4 separate regions of the Homo sapiens genome follow, and all the other regions are linked to region 2. The links are contacts of gene promoters, found by promoter capture Hi-C in human tissues and cell types (Jung and others, 2019). All regions are on one chromosome and are shown on one strand. The core of a region is centred on a gene start or on the middle of the fragment in contact, and the rest is flanking DNA. Distances in the headings are between cores, read along the strand shown. Region 1 has its middle 10 kb from the start of PRF1. Region 2 holds the start of ADAMTS14 (ADAM metallopeptidase with thrombospondin type 1 motif 14). Region 3 overlaps ADAMTS14 (ADAM metallopeptidase with thrombospondin type 1 motif 14). Region 4 holds the start of TBATA (thymus, brain and testes associated).

Region 1 (3,236 bases), core at 622-3,121, 80 kb after region 2:
GGGATCCTGCCCTTAGAACCACCACACAATTGTCCCCCAGCCCCTCCCTCCCAATGGCAGGAAGCACAGAAGCCGGGGTCCATTCACGTTCTCCATCACCTGACGGATTGTTACTGAGTGCCTTCTATGATCCAGGTCCTGGGGCCCCCAAGGACAGAAAGTCATGCTGAGCGCCTGTCCCCTTGAGGGCTGCATCCAACAGGAAGACAGACGTGGGCACACTGGAAGCTACAGGTAGTCAGGATGACATTCATTTTCATATGCGCACACAGTCCAAGGGGTCTCTTCCAAGACTTGGGGCTGGCATTGACAACAACCCAGGTTTTTTGTTTTTTTAGAGACAAGGTCTTGCTCTATTGCCCAGGCTGGAGCACAGCGGCACAATCATAGCTCAGTGCAGCCTTGACTCCTGGGCTAAAGTGATCCTCCCACCTCAGCCTCCTGAGTAGCTGGCATGCACCACCATGCCTGACTAATTTTTTAATGTTTTGCAGAGTCAGGATCTCTCCACGTTGCCCCGGCTGGTCTCAAACTCCTGGCCTCAAGCGATCCTCCCACCTTGGCCTCCCAAAGTGCTGGGATCACAGGCGTGAGCCAGCCCCAGCTTTTGTTTTTTAAGCAGTTGCCACAGCACCATCATCTCCCTCCATATACACCTTCGTGGTCCTGACAAGCTGGCAGTGAGCCTGGCGTCCCTGATGTGTTTGGACGGAGGAGATGCCTGCTGGAGGGGGAGGTGGTGTAGGGGTGAGGGAGCGAGGGAGTTCCTTGTGGTGAGGGGGCTGCTGCAGCCTTGGGAGACTGTGGTTCCTCTTGCTCACCAGCATCTCCATTCCTCCACGCCGCTCCACATCCTGACATCTGTCGCTTCCTCATAACCACAGCCTCTCTTGGTCGCCAGTATCTCTTGCTTGGCCCACTCCGCCTTTGGCCTTCTCACTGATCTCAGGGCTCGTGCATGCCCCTCACTCACCCTGCAGCCACGGTGATGCCAGCACCCTGCGCAGATCCCCTCAGACCCCACCACAACCACCAGCCCCTGCACCTCTGTCTAAGGCCTGTGCTGGGGCCCACTCTGCCTGCCCCATCAGGAGGCCAGAATTATTTGAGAATAGTGTCCATGTCCCACTCAGTCCAGAAAAACCCACAACCAGTGGCTGAGGAAAGTTGGTATACAAATACCCCAGCTCACTCCCTGTCCAGGGAATAACTGCAGGACATATGCCACACTGGCTCCCAGAGTTCTACAGCAGGTGGAAGCTCCATTTGCACACAGAGGTGACTTGCTTGACCACATACACCTTCTTGGCTGCCTCCCTTTCCTGTCTCACTACCACACCCCCTCACTGGTATTTTCTGGAGTCACCCCCCAGTGGAAACCATACACCCTTGGATCCCTGCCTCAGGGTCTGCCTCTGAGGAAACCAGCTAAGACACACATCTGACTGTGTCATTGACTGGCTCACACTCTATTGACTCCTTGCAGCTAAGTCCTTCTCAACCTTCAGCCTTTAGCTTCAAAGATCACTTACTCCAGGAAGCCTTCCCTGACTGCCAGGTCTAGGTCATGCCGCCCTCTACCCTGCTTCTGTAGTCCCCAGCGTTTCCCCATCATAGCACTGTGAAGCCACAAGCCATTTCTATCTTATTCATGGTTGAATCAACTAGTCCAGCACCTGGCATAAATTTGATAAGTGAAAAATATTGGATGGATGAGTAGATGGAAGATGAATGAGTGGATGAATGAACCCCACCAAGGAATTTTCCAGCCTCTGCTTGAACTCCCCCAGAGACAGACAGCTCATTACCTCCTAAGGTAACTGTCCCACATTTAGAAGGTTCTAACCATGAGCTCTCATGTTACACAGAGACGTACCTCCTACATAGGAGCCTACACAGTAGGCTACCTACCACAGAAGCCTAGCATCCACTCCTGGTTGTGGCTCAAGGATTCTATATATTTAAAGCTTTGGTTTTAGCCAACCGTGTTAGTCCTAGCTATTTGGGAGGCTAAGGCAGGAGGATCACTTGAGCCCAGGAGGTCAAGACTGCAGTGAGCTATGGTCATGCCACTGCACTCCAGCCTGGCAACAGAGTGAGACCCAGTCTCTAAAAATACATACATACATACATACATACATACATACATACATACATACATACATAAATCACTGGCCCTGTCTTCAATGTGGTTAGGCAGAAGGACCACTGGGCTGATTCCAGTCCATGCAGCAGCTTCCCCTCACTCTCCTTCCGTGAAGGAGCCATGGAAGGGCCAGACACTGCCCAGGAGAAGGTGGAGGTGGAGCTGGGCCAGCCGCCTCTCTTCTCTGTAGCTGACAACAGAAGTGAGACCCCCTTCTGGGAGGGATGGATGCTCTTGGTTGTTTGCTCTTGATTCTTTGTTCCTCAATAGACCTCATCACCAACTGGGGTCAGTTGCAGCTAGGGCAGCTGTTTCTCTGGGCAAAGCTGATGCCCACTTGGCCTGGGCAGGTTCTGGCCACAGAGGGGCAAGGTCTACCACCTTAGCCTGCTCACAGGATCTCCTCCCTTCCCCTCCCCTCCACTGGCTGATGAGGTCCTTTCCAGCCTCGACTTCCACAGCTCAGCTGACCACAGCACTCCTGGGGCAGGGGCAGGCTGAGCATCTGCCAGGTTTTCACCGTTGAGGACAGGAGGATGTGACTGGTGCAGTTGAGACCAAGGTCACAGGTGAGATTCTCAGGGGGAGGTTAGAGTTAGTGATGCACAGAGATAGTCTCAGTCACAGACAGGATCCTGGAGAGGAGCCAAGGACTGACATCCAACCTAAGCCACATTGAAAAGACCCAGCCACACACTGGAGACCCAGTCACAGAAACCAGTCCAATCATATGAATTTCGACTTTGGTCCAAGACAGATTCCCAACCTCAATCAGTTCTCTTGTACATTGCAAGCACATAAAACTCCCCCTCCAGACTTGAGTCCCCAGCTGCAAATGAGGGGGCTGGAACCGTGATTTATTTGCAGCTTTCAGCATGGAGAGTCTCAGCCCTGATCCCACAAGCTGTTCAGTCTCTGACACTCAGTGGCATGGCCTGGTGTGTCAGAGGTGTTTGAACCAGAGCGACTCCATCTTGAATAGGGCCTGGGTAAAATGAGGCTGAGACCTACTGGGCTGCTTTCCTAGGAGGTTAGGCATTCTAAGTCACAGGATGAGATAGGAGGTCAGCACAAGAAACAGGTCACAAAG
Region 2 (3,665 bases), core at 436-2,935:
CAGATCTGCCCAAACTCCCCAGTGTGCTGAAGTCACCAGCCCAGGCTGGGGTAGTGCCCTCCTCCCCAAACTTCCAAGAACGCAGCTGGCAAAACAAACACACCTAGAAACCCAGGGGACCATGGGCACGTGTCAAGGAGAAGGTGGGGCTGCAGAGGGGAGCGGTTCTCTATTTTTCCAAGGTTAGAAAGAAAACTTTTTACAGGAGGACAGTGGCCGCTGAGATCTCTGTATGGCCGAGCCCCAAGCTGGATAAATATAGATCTTCAAAAATAAAAGGATATACAGGGGGTGACCTGCCCACTTGGGCTGAATTAACTGTGAGGTCATGGCCCCATGCTCCAGGCCACATGCCAGCAGGCCCATCCTCACGCAGCTCTCCTTGAGCCCAGCCAGGCTGGGCAGGAATGACAGCTCCCTGGCTTCCAGGCCTGGTGATTCATGAATGCGAGTTTGGGAGGAATTTTCATTTCCACACAGCTCTACCTCTCGTCTCCCCAGTTCACGTCACTGATGAAACATAGAAAGTGGTGTTTCCTGAAAATCCCCCATGCCCACAGCTCTAGTTTCATCCCCATTATAGCAGAGGACCCCTAAGACTGCTGCAAGAGGGGACCCACTCTGGCACATGAACAAGGCTCACAAACAAGGAGGGACCCTGCCTGGAAATGACCGGTGACTCCTCCCCATGTTCAGAGCCACCAGGAGGGTACCCCATGCTGCAGGGCGGGAGTGGAGTGTATCTGGTCTGTATGCAAGAGACCTGTGTCCACAGCGTTTGACAGTGCTACGTTGGGGGCAGTGGAAGGATGTGTGTTTCTGTGCAGGAGCGTGAGTGCCCCGCATGCTCTGCTGTAGGAGGCAATCACCTGTTAGCCTTATGCTGGGTATGTAACAGCCACACACAGACACACACACACACACACCCCTTGCACCCATGCTCACACAAGTTGGAGACAGAAAAGACATTGAAAGAGAAAGACACACAGGACAGAGAAACAGATTGGGGAAGAGGGGAAAGAAGAAACACAGAGAGACAAAGAGACAGATGCGCTGCTCCCGAGAAGAGACTCGATGCTCCCAAATTCTCTCCTGGGGTCTCTGTCTACTTCTAGTACCAGAAAGGGAGAGAAATCACGGGACAGTGCCGTGGCACAGTGGAAGAAAAGACAGCAAATCAGCCCAGAGTGTGCATACTGCCTCCCACCCGCGGGAACCCTGCCCGGGTGGCTGGGGCAACCTTGGGCCACCCTGACCGCGTGCACCCCGGACCCCACGGGCCCCCGCGCGCCCAACCCGCACGCACCTGGGGTCCGGCTGCCCGCGGCGGCGCAGAGCGCACAGTGCAAAGGCAGCAGGTAGGACAGCAGCGCGCGGAGTGGAGCCATGTGGCCGCGCTGGGACGCGGGCTGGGCAAGCGCCCGATCCCCAAGTCCCAGGCTGAGGGCGGCGAGGCTAGGGTGCGCCCCGGGCTGTCGGAGCACCGGCTGGCTGCCGCCGCTGCCGCCTCAGCCGCCTCCCCGCCTAGCTGCTTCCCTCCCGCCTGCTCCGGGTCCCCTGCGCGGCGCCGCCGCCTGGACCGCTGGCTCCGGGCGCGCGAGGCTGCCGGCTGGAGAGCGGGGCCACTGACGCGCCAGCGCACCCGGTGCCAACTGCCGGCTGGTCGGTCAGCCCGCCCGCGCAGTGACGCTCCGGGACTCCGCGGGAGCCGGGCGACGGGGCGGCGGGACGGGCCGGGGGTGGGCACACTGGGCGGGGCGGGGCCGGGCGCGGGTCGGAGCTGGGGCGCCGGGCGCCCGGGGGCGGGGCGCGCGGCTGGGGAGTGCAGCTGCCTGCGGCCGGGGATCGGAAGTGCCACGCGGAGACAGAGCAGGGGTTCCTGGCGCACGGACCGATTGTCCCCTCAGACGCCTGGGATCCCCGGAGTGGTGGCCCAAAGCCGCTTTCTATGGCTGCTCCGCCCCCTTTCTTGGCCGCAGGGCCTGCTCTCTGTTTCTGTTCCAGAGCCAGGAGCCCAAGGGGTGTCCGGCTGCATTTGGGAGTGTGGTGGACAGTGAACCTCCCGGTAGAGGGAGACTCCCTCTTTCTTTCACTATGGTCTTGATGCCCTCACTAACCATCGACCCCTTGGATCTACCCATTTTCCAGACTCCAGCCCAGGGTGCACGACTGACCTGTGTCCTAGCCAAGAGCAGGGCTGAGCCGGTGAGGAGAGAGCCCTGGCTTCAGAGTCAGACAGCCCTGATTGAAATCCTAGCTCTGAGCCTCAGTTGTCTTATCTGTGAAATGGGTGTTAACTACAGCACATAATAGATGCTCAATAAGTGATAACTGCCCTCCACTTCCATCCCTGACACCAGTAGCAACTGTGGCATCCCAAGGTGGAAAGAACCAAGAGTCTGAGAGATGAGCACTTGATGCTAGTCTTGCAATGGTGTTGAGACCAGGTCAGGAGTCAGTACAAACAACCCAACAGAAGATCCATGCTCTTGCTTTACTCTGTAAATATGTAACTAATAACTTGCAAATAAACTATATTTCAAGCAATCCAGGGGTGGGAGTTGTGGAAAGGAGATTTTTTTGTAATAACCATGGAATAAAGAATCTTGGAAATGATGCCAAGGTTTTGGAGGACCAGTGCATTTAAGAAGCAGGTTCAGAAAGCTAAAGTATATTATATTCCAAGCATTCCAAGCTACATCAGAGCATCCAGTTATTTGGAAATGCCACAACCAAATTGATCTATATTAAATTCAGGAAGAATAGAGTTCCTCTTTCTCCTCTTTCTGGTCTTTTAAGATGTGTGTTGGCTGCGTGCAGTGGCTCACGCCTATAGTCCCAACACTTTGGGAGGCTGAGGCGGAAGGGTTGCTTTAGCCTGAGAGGCTGAAGCTGCAGTGAGCTGAGCTTCAGCTCACACCACTGTACCCAGCCTGGGTGACAGAGCAATACCCTGTCTCAAAAAAAAAAAAAAATGATGTGCAAAGTCAAGGTCCAGACAGGATTCTGTGTGTGAGGGATGACAGAGCAAGAAAGTTAGAGGGTGTGTGTGTGTGTGTGTGTGTGTGTGTGTGTGTGTGTGAGAGAGAGAGAGAGAGAGAGAGGAAAGAGAGAGAGAGATAGGAAAGAGAGAGAGAGAAAGAGAGAGAGAGAGAAAGAGAGAGAGAGAGAGAAGGCTGGGAGATGACCAGGCTGGAGCTTCACAGCTCTGGCCCTCTGCAAACCCAAGCCCACCAAATGATCTCTGGATAAAATGGCTTCCCTTCTCAGGGTCTCAGTTTTCCAAGCTGCAGAGTGGGAACCCTGCGGGACAGAAGGAAAAAGTCATGGCGTAAGGATTGCCCCTTTTCTGCTGTGGGGCCATCTCAGAAAGACTCCCCTAGAAAACTCAGGGGCCCCAGCTCCATTCCACCCCCTTGTTCCTGCCTCAAGGAAAGCAAGTCAAGAGGAGCAGGTCACAGCTGGGGCCCCAGCAGCCTGCTTCGCTGGAGTGGGCTGCGGCCTTCCCTGGAGCCAGCCTTGGCAAGCAGAGAGCAAAACCTCTCCCCGTTTCTTTACCCCCGCCCCCTTCCCTGGGGCTACAATGATTGCTTTTATCGGCAAGTATTGTGTGTCCAAGCTCTCTTCCATGGAGGAAGGCTTTGTTAGGAAAAGGGGACATGGGG
Region 3 (3,178 bases), core at 92-2,591, 91 kb before region 2:
TGTGTGTGTGTACAGACACAAACAATCTTGCACATGCACACATCTGGAATGGATAACTAAATTATTAACAGTGGTTATTGCTAAGTAGAATTATAGATTTTTTTTCCTCAGGTTGTAAAATTTTTCAATAATGAGCATATATTTCTTGCATAATTTTTTAAAGGAGAAGATTTGTGGTGTAGGCCCCAGAGATTTCTAATCTGTGGCAGCTGGGTCCCTGGGACTGCCCCAGCTACATTTCCACCCCTTCTTGCTCTTTCCCTCCTCCCCCCAGACCCCTACCTTCCCCCAAGCCTTCAGTCTCCTGAAGCCAGGTAGGGAGCAGGGGCTCTTTGGAAGAGCCCACAGAGTTCCAGGTCAGATGGCCCAGGCTCTGTGCCTTCCCCTCTTCCCCTGCCTGCTGTGTCATTTCAGGTGGAAGGCCTGGAGTTTCACCAGGAGGGTAAATCAAAAAAGGGCCCAGAGGCCAGTCTATTGCCCAGGAACATGATGAGGCTCCAATTGCCCCTTTTCTCCTCTGGAGGAATGGGAAGGTAAGTCTCCTGCTGTCCCTAAACCCTTGCCATCCCCCCGATCCCTTCTCCACCAGGAGCTTTCAGGCCTTACTAGCCCAAATGAAGTCACAGGCTGGAACCTCAAGGAGGCCATCTGGACACAGAAGACAGCCATGGTGAGGACTTCCCAGGCTCTTTGAACAGGAGGCTAAGGGTGACTCTGTGCAGCACTGTCCCTACTGACCCCAAGGGCAAGGAGATGCTGGAACTTCAGGGGGCTTCCTCCAAAATGACAGGTGTGCTGGCCCCTGGCTATGGGTTGAGGAAGCTTGGCAGACCAGGGCAAAGGCTCTGGAAGCCAGTCGGGGCTGATAGGCTAGACTCTGGGCACCTGGCTGTCACTGCGGCAGGGCTCTGCCAAGCATGGGGCAGGTGTGGATAAAGCCTTGAAGTCAGAGTGGCCTGGAGAATCCCCTCCAGGGAAGAGACAGGCAATCTGGCACCCTGGCACCTGCACCCACCAGACTCCAAACAGGAAACCGTTTAGGGCAGGAAGAGGTGAGACCATTCCCATATGGCCTTTCCCACTGGGCTCCTACAGGAAGTGAGGGATGTTTCTGAGGCTGCGATGGAAAGAGGGCCCTTGGTGCTGTTCCTCTATCTTCACCCGTGAATCCTTTCATTTTCTCAGTTTCCACCAAAACAAGCAAAAATCCTGACCCATAAAAAGCCCTCAATTTGGAGAGTGGACATTTCCAGATGTTTGGGGAGATGGCAACAGAAATTTAATTGAACCTTAGACATATTAGACAACCTGCATCCTAAAAAGCCCCCAGCCAAAGACAGATGGAGAGGCTGCCCTCTCTGTGTTCCCACCCCCACGGGGGTAGGAGTCTCCAAACCATTTTCTCCTCGGCCTTAAGGGGAGGAGTGAGCTCTGCACAATGACAAGAAGCCCTTTTGCCAGCTTCACCTTTTCTAAGTGCCCAGCAGTGTAGATTCTTTTACTCCATGACACAAATTCTGCCACTGCTTAGAAGGCAAAAGTGGTTGCAGTCATTTTGCTTTCAGTGACAGTCTCTTTGTTCTGTGGTTGCTAAGATTCCTTTAGAGAGCCCCTCTTGTTGTTCTTTTTTGTTTTTGAGACAGGGTCATGCTCTGTCACCCAGGCTGGAGTGCCATGGCGCAATCACAGCTCAGTGTGGCCTCAAACTCCTGGGCTCAAGGGATCCTCTCACTTCCACCTCCTAAATAGCTGAGACCACAGGCGTGCAACACCACGCCTGGCTAATGTTCTTTTTATTTTTTGTTGAGACGGGATCTTGCTATGTTGCTCAGGCTGGTCTGGAACTCCCACCTCCAAAAGTGCTGGGATTACAGGCATGAGCCACTCTGCCCCACTGGCCTCTAGTTGCATTTAAACAGGTTGAGAATTTCACAATAACCTGAAATAAAGTGTTGTCCTGGAACTTGGGCCTCAGGGAAACAGGAGATTCAGTAGCCAAGAAACCAGTGGCAACCCTGTGTCCCACCTGGCAGTGACGCAGCAGGGCATGGGTGGAAAGGTGGAGGGACAGGAGACAGCCACAGTGAGCTGCGCCCCCACCCCCAGTTCTCTTGCTACAGCCCAGCCCTCAACCTTCGAGCTCTGGCTTCATTGTCCCCTTCCCATAAATCAGAGAGAGAAAAAGAAACACACACACAACCTTTTGGGGTCCAATGGCGATGTTAATAAATACATAAAATTTTAAAGATCTGGATTTCCAAGGCACAAGAGTTTAACACAGGCCAGGCTGGTTCTCACAGGAATGACTCCGCGTGTGCCCCAGCATCCCAGGGAGGGGAGGGCAACAGGGGGAGGGCGGGGAGCCCCCCAGGACCTCCACTCTCCAAAGGGGTTGCAGGCCAGGGGCCCACTACTCATGTTCCTCCAGGCTGGCTCAGAACAGCCCCTTTGCCTTGGGGAAGGAAGAAGTGAGAAGCACCTCTATCACCTGGCAGGAGTTTAGGAGACATCCTCCAAGACCCCGGAGGTGTCCTGGGACCCCCTGCCACTTCCTGAGAGCCAGAGGATCTAAGACTGTTACCTGTCCCTTGGAGGTAGCATGGCCGGCAGCTGAGCACAGCTCAGGCCCTTACAGCACCGTGGGTGAGTGTGTCTTCCCCACTCCAGCACCAGGCCAGGGGCTGGCACCCTGCCCTGGGGCACTTGGCCTGGGTGGCCCTTGTCATCTCCAGGGCCAGGCTATGAGTGGACTCTGGTCCTCAGTCCTGGGGTCCAACCACCCCTGGGAGAACCACACACTCTGGCCCAGCTTGAGCCAGGTAGAAGATGAAGATGTCCGACTCCAGCAGGAGCGATCTTCGGAGAAGGGCAATGATTGAAGGGACAGCCTGAGAAATCGTGTTCCCTCTGTGTCCCACAGAGTCCCCTTCCAGGCTGAGAGTGATAATTGAAGTTGCCATCCTGGTGGAGTCAGGGAGTGAGCGCCAGTTTGGAAATCCCTGGATGCTGAGGACTTGGGGTCCAGGGTGTCCTGAGCCCCCTTCTCTGGTGGGCTGGGGTGAGATTGGGGGGCCAGTCTGTAATCTGGAGTCACTAGAAGTAACACTAGTGACATCTGCAAGGCCAGAGTATGGCCATGAGCACCATCTTCTGGCCAGCAAAGACAAACTGGCCTCTG
Region 4 (3,557 bases), core at 352-2,851, 110 kb before region 2:
CAAGAGTGCTGAAAGCAGGAGGGAGGAGTGGCTTGTCACGGGGAAGAAAGCCTCTCTTCTCCCAAATGCTATATCATCTATCTTCACAGCTGCCAGGATGCCCAGAAGTATGGAAGAGGGGGTTTTCAGTATGATTTCAAAAGAGTCACCGTATTCCTGCAGAGACAGGCCCAGAAAAAGCCAGGGAACATCCTGACCTGCCGAAGGATGGGTGGGCATTTGGAGTAGGCCAAGACCAGAGGACAGCCCTCAGGGGGCCACCAGAGTGGTATGAATCCCCACCCCTTAGCTGGGAGGGGCAGAACTTTTGAAGGACTTGGGTTTGCCTCTAGCTACCCACCTTCCTTTTCTTGCTCCCCAGAGAAAAGACACAGAGTCTGGAAGCCCCAGGGCACCAGTATGAAGCCAGGGGTGCTGAGAGCAAAGGCCCTGGGAAAAGCCCACCTCATCATTCTGAGGGACAGCACCCGGCACTGTCTGCAAGCCTTCCCATAGTTTACAGAGCCTGTCTGCACCCCTCCCGGGATCTGATTGAGTTACAGCCCTGTCGGCTAAGAACTATCCTTACCCCCATTTGACAGGTGTCCAAGTTGAGCCTCAGAGAAATAGTGAACTACCTAAGATAGTTCTCAGACAAAGGACTCATCCTACTACCTCCATCAAGTTACCAATAATAATGATGATTATTATCCTTTTTGAGCATCTCTTGTGTGCCAGACATACAACTAAAGGCTTCACTTCCATTAGCTTGTCTTCAGAACAACCACAGAAGTAGGTGAGGATATCCCATTTTATAGACCCAGAGAAGGCAATAATAGTAAGAAATTATACTTGGGGGCAGATACTGTTTGAAACGCTTTAATATATATCAACTCACTTAATATTCTCAAACATCCTGTGAGAATAAGTGCAGTATCATCATCTCCATTTTAGAGATATGGGAACTAAGGCTCAGAGAAGGCAGGTGCATTGTCTGAGGCCACACAACTAGGAAGTAGCAGAATAGGGACTCGAAGCAAGGATTCTTCCCACTATTTTGCATCTGTGGCAGTCCCGGTGACTTACCCAAGGTAACGTGTCTATGGGATGTTGAAATCTGATTAAAACACCTGTCCAAATGCAAGCCCAGAATCTTCCCACCCAGCTGTCATGCAGAGAGAGGGGCTGGGGTCCCTCTGGGTAATGCGGGCTGCCATCTTCTCTCCTTCCAAGACCCACCTCCCTGAGAATGGGTCCCCAGAACCAAGATGCATGGAAGCCGACCCCTGTGTGGTGGGGTCAGGCCAGGTGGGGCTGACGAAGCTGGGACGCAGCCCACCAACGTCCTCTGCCAGCGTTCCGCCTCCATCCGCTTCTCTCTGGCTAAAACCAGCCCCAGACTCTCCTTCTCTCCCTTGGCCCCCATTGAAAGTGTTGGATGGGAGGCAGCAGGGAAGTCAGGAGGGACAGAAGGTCCTTAGCCCTTGTCTACCCTTCCAGGAGGGGGAGATAGGCAGGGGATGTGGTAGAGGGGTGCTGGGCAGAGGTTCTGGAGTTGTGGGAACAGGGTAACCTAGCAACCACTGGGCTCAGTGTCACAAAGCAGGCAGACTTGCCCACAGAACCCACAGCCTTCCCCTCGATTTGTCCTCTTGCTCCTTCCTGCTAGGACAGCAGGGCTTCTCGTACACATGCTGTAGCGGGCACTGCCTTGGTGAGTCCAGGGACCTCTCGGGAGAGGAGATGGACCCTGGACAGCCCAGAAGGGCAGAGGTAGAAAGGGAAGTTTTGTGGCTGGATTGATGGGAGCCCTCAGACCCCTCTGCCTGGCTGGCTGGGGCCCCAGGGACAGAGAGCAGGGGCAGGGCAGGGCAGACTACACTGGGGTCCCACCTGTCCCGCTCTGGACAAGGCAGGCTTGGCCTACTAGAGTCCCTGTCAGCCTCTCTACAGCCGCTGTGGGTTATGACCCCCTGGTGGCTTATTAGATCAATTTAAATGGATCATATCTAACATTTAAGAAATAAAAACCAAAAATAGGGTAAAAATATCAGTGTGCATCATATGTAGTACGGATAAATATTGCTTCAGGATATTATTGTTTTAGTTTCACACACACACACAAACCCATATGTGAATTGGATCATGACATAAAGAATTTCTTACCGTCATCACAGCCAAACACATTTGCAAGTCTCTGTTCTAAAGAGTACTTTTTCCCATAGGCAGGAGGATTTGGGGCTTCCACATATCCTGTTCTCAAGATTGTAGCATCTCAGTACTCTAGAGCCCAGTACCTGACATCAAGGATGTCTGGAGCTTCCTTTTAAGGAAAGAAAAGATCAGCAAACTGTGAGTCAGACTGCCCGGGCTCTGGTTCCTTCTGTGTGACCTCAGCAAATCTCCCCTGCTTCCCTGATCTCAGACAACTCCAACCCATCCCACTACCTGATGAAGGCTGGCATTGGGAGATCTCTGGGGTCCCTTGCAGATTCTGTGACTCTGAGGGTTAATTCTCAGAATGCACTGATGTCCTGTCCCAACCCCATCCCTAGCACTTTGGCTAGATATATATATTCAGGTCCATAGATTTAATCATAATTCTTGGTTTTGACACCTATCATCTTTCATCTATGCCATTTAATTAGTTTATTTAATAATATAATAAACACAAGCAAATACACCACCCAAACCAAGAACAAGAACATCATCACTAACACATCTCCTTATATGCGCTTCTCCTGCACACTTCCCCTCCCCGCCTTCCCTCGGAAATAGCCACTATGTGAATTTCGTGCTTAGCATTTCCTTGTTTGATGCTGTTGTTGCTGTTTTATCGCATGTTCATGATCATTTTGCTTGCTTTTAAACTTTTATTTTTAGAAAGGATCTCAGGCTATGTGGTCCTCTGGAACTTGTGGTCCTCTGGAACACACATAAACTAAACCATTTATGAAAGAAAAATAATATGTTTTTAAACAACATTTATACTGTTTAGTAGTTATTTTATATTATCCACACATTATATATAGTGGATGACAACAATTGTATTGTTTCAAATGCATATATCTTGTTCTACTGCAGCCTATTTAATAGTAATTAATAAAAAGTAAATTGAGTTAATAAGATTGCATAAATATAACATCGCAAAACCAAGAATTGTTAAGTTTTCTCATACTGATTATAAGATTCATCCATGTTGTTACATGTAGCTGTGGCTCATTTATTTTCATAGCAATAAAGTATCCCATTGTCTGAATGCACCACAGCTTATTTATCCATTCTTCTGCCATCAGACATTTGGGTTGCCACCAGGTTTTTGCTATTTTGAACAGTGTTTGTATGAATATTCTTATAAGTAGCCCCTGTTGTACATCTATAAGAATTTCTCTTATATCTGGGAAAGAAATTGCTGGGTGATACAGCATGCAAATGCTCAATTTTAAAAGATATTACCATTTCTCCCCCTAAAGTGCCTGTTCCCGTTTACACTTCCACCACCAGTTCGTGAGAGTTCCTGTTCTGCATCCTCAACACTAGTATTAAGTGAGAGTTCCTGTTCTGCATCCTCAACGCTA

What was found. Contacts are between HindIII fragments. The study calls those that stand out against the background at their distance.
Region 1: a fragment that was not itself captured here is called in contact with the fragment with the promoter of ADAMTS14 in region 2 in 7 of the 25 tissues and cell types used here (IMR-90 fibroblasts, aorta, dorsolateral prefrontal cortex and 4 more).
Region 3: a fragment that was not itself captured here is called in contact with the fragment with the promoter of ADAMTS14 in region 2 in 5 of the 25 tissues and cell types used here (IMR-90 fibroblasts, heart left ventricle, liver and 2 more).
Region 4: the fragment with the promoter of TBATA here is called in contact with the fragment with the promoter of ADAMTS14 in region 2 in 6 of the 25 tissues and cell types used here (heart left ventricle, liver, mesenchymal stem cells and 3 more).

What each region holds. Positions count from the first base shown.
Region 1 is chr10:70,590,673-70,593,908 of GRCh38, reverse strand. No RefSeq gene overlaps it. Among named protein-coding and RNA genes, the nearest start is that of PRF1, 10 kb to the left of the region's middle. The HindIII fragment of the contact is 5,825 bases long and covers 1-3,236 here.
Region 2 is chr10:70,670,526-70,674,190 of GRCh38, reverse strand. ADAMTS14 (ADAM metallopeptidase with thrombospondin type 1 motif 14) reads right to left here and starts at 1,685. Exons shown (of 22, transcript NM_080722.4): 1 at 1,307-1,685. The coding sequence starts at 1,388. RefSeq lists a silencer at 2,804-3,098. The HindIII fragment of the contact is 21,684 bases long and covers 1-3,665 here.
Region 3 is chr10:70,761,465-70,764,642 of GRCh38, reverse strand. It overlaps ADAMTS14 (ADAM metallopeptidase with thrombospondin type 1 motif 14), which reads right to left. Exons shown (of 22, transcript NM_080722.4): 22 at 2,202-3,178. Among named protein-coding and RNA genes, the nearest start is that of TBATA, 22 kb to the left of the region's middle. RefSeq lists an enhancer at 2,088-2,857. The HindIII fragment of the contact is 6,281 bases long and covers 1-3,178 here.
Region 4 is chr10:70,783,421-70,786,977 of GRCh38, reverse strand. It overlaps TBATA (thymus, brain and testes associated), which reads left to right and starts at 1,601. Exons shown (of 11, transcript NM_001318241.2): 1 at 1,601-1,693; 2 at 2,205-2,331; 3 at 3,453-3,557. The HindIII fragment of the contact is 18,774 bases long and covers 1-3,557 here.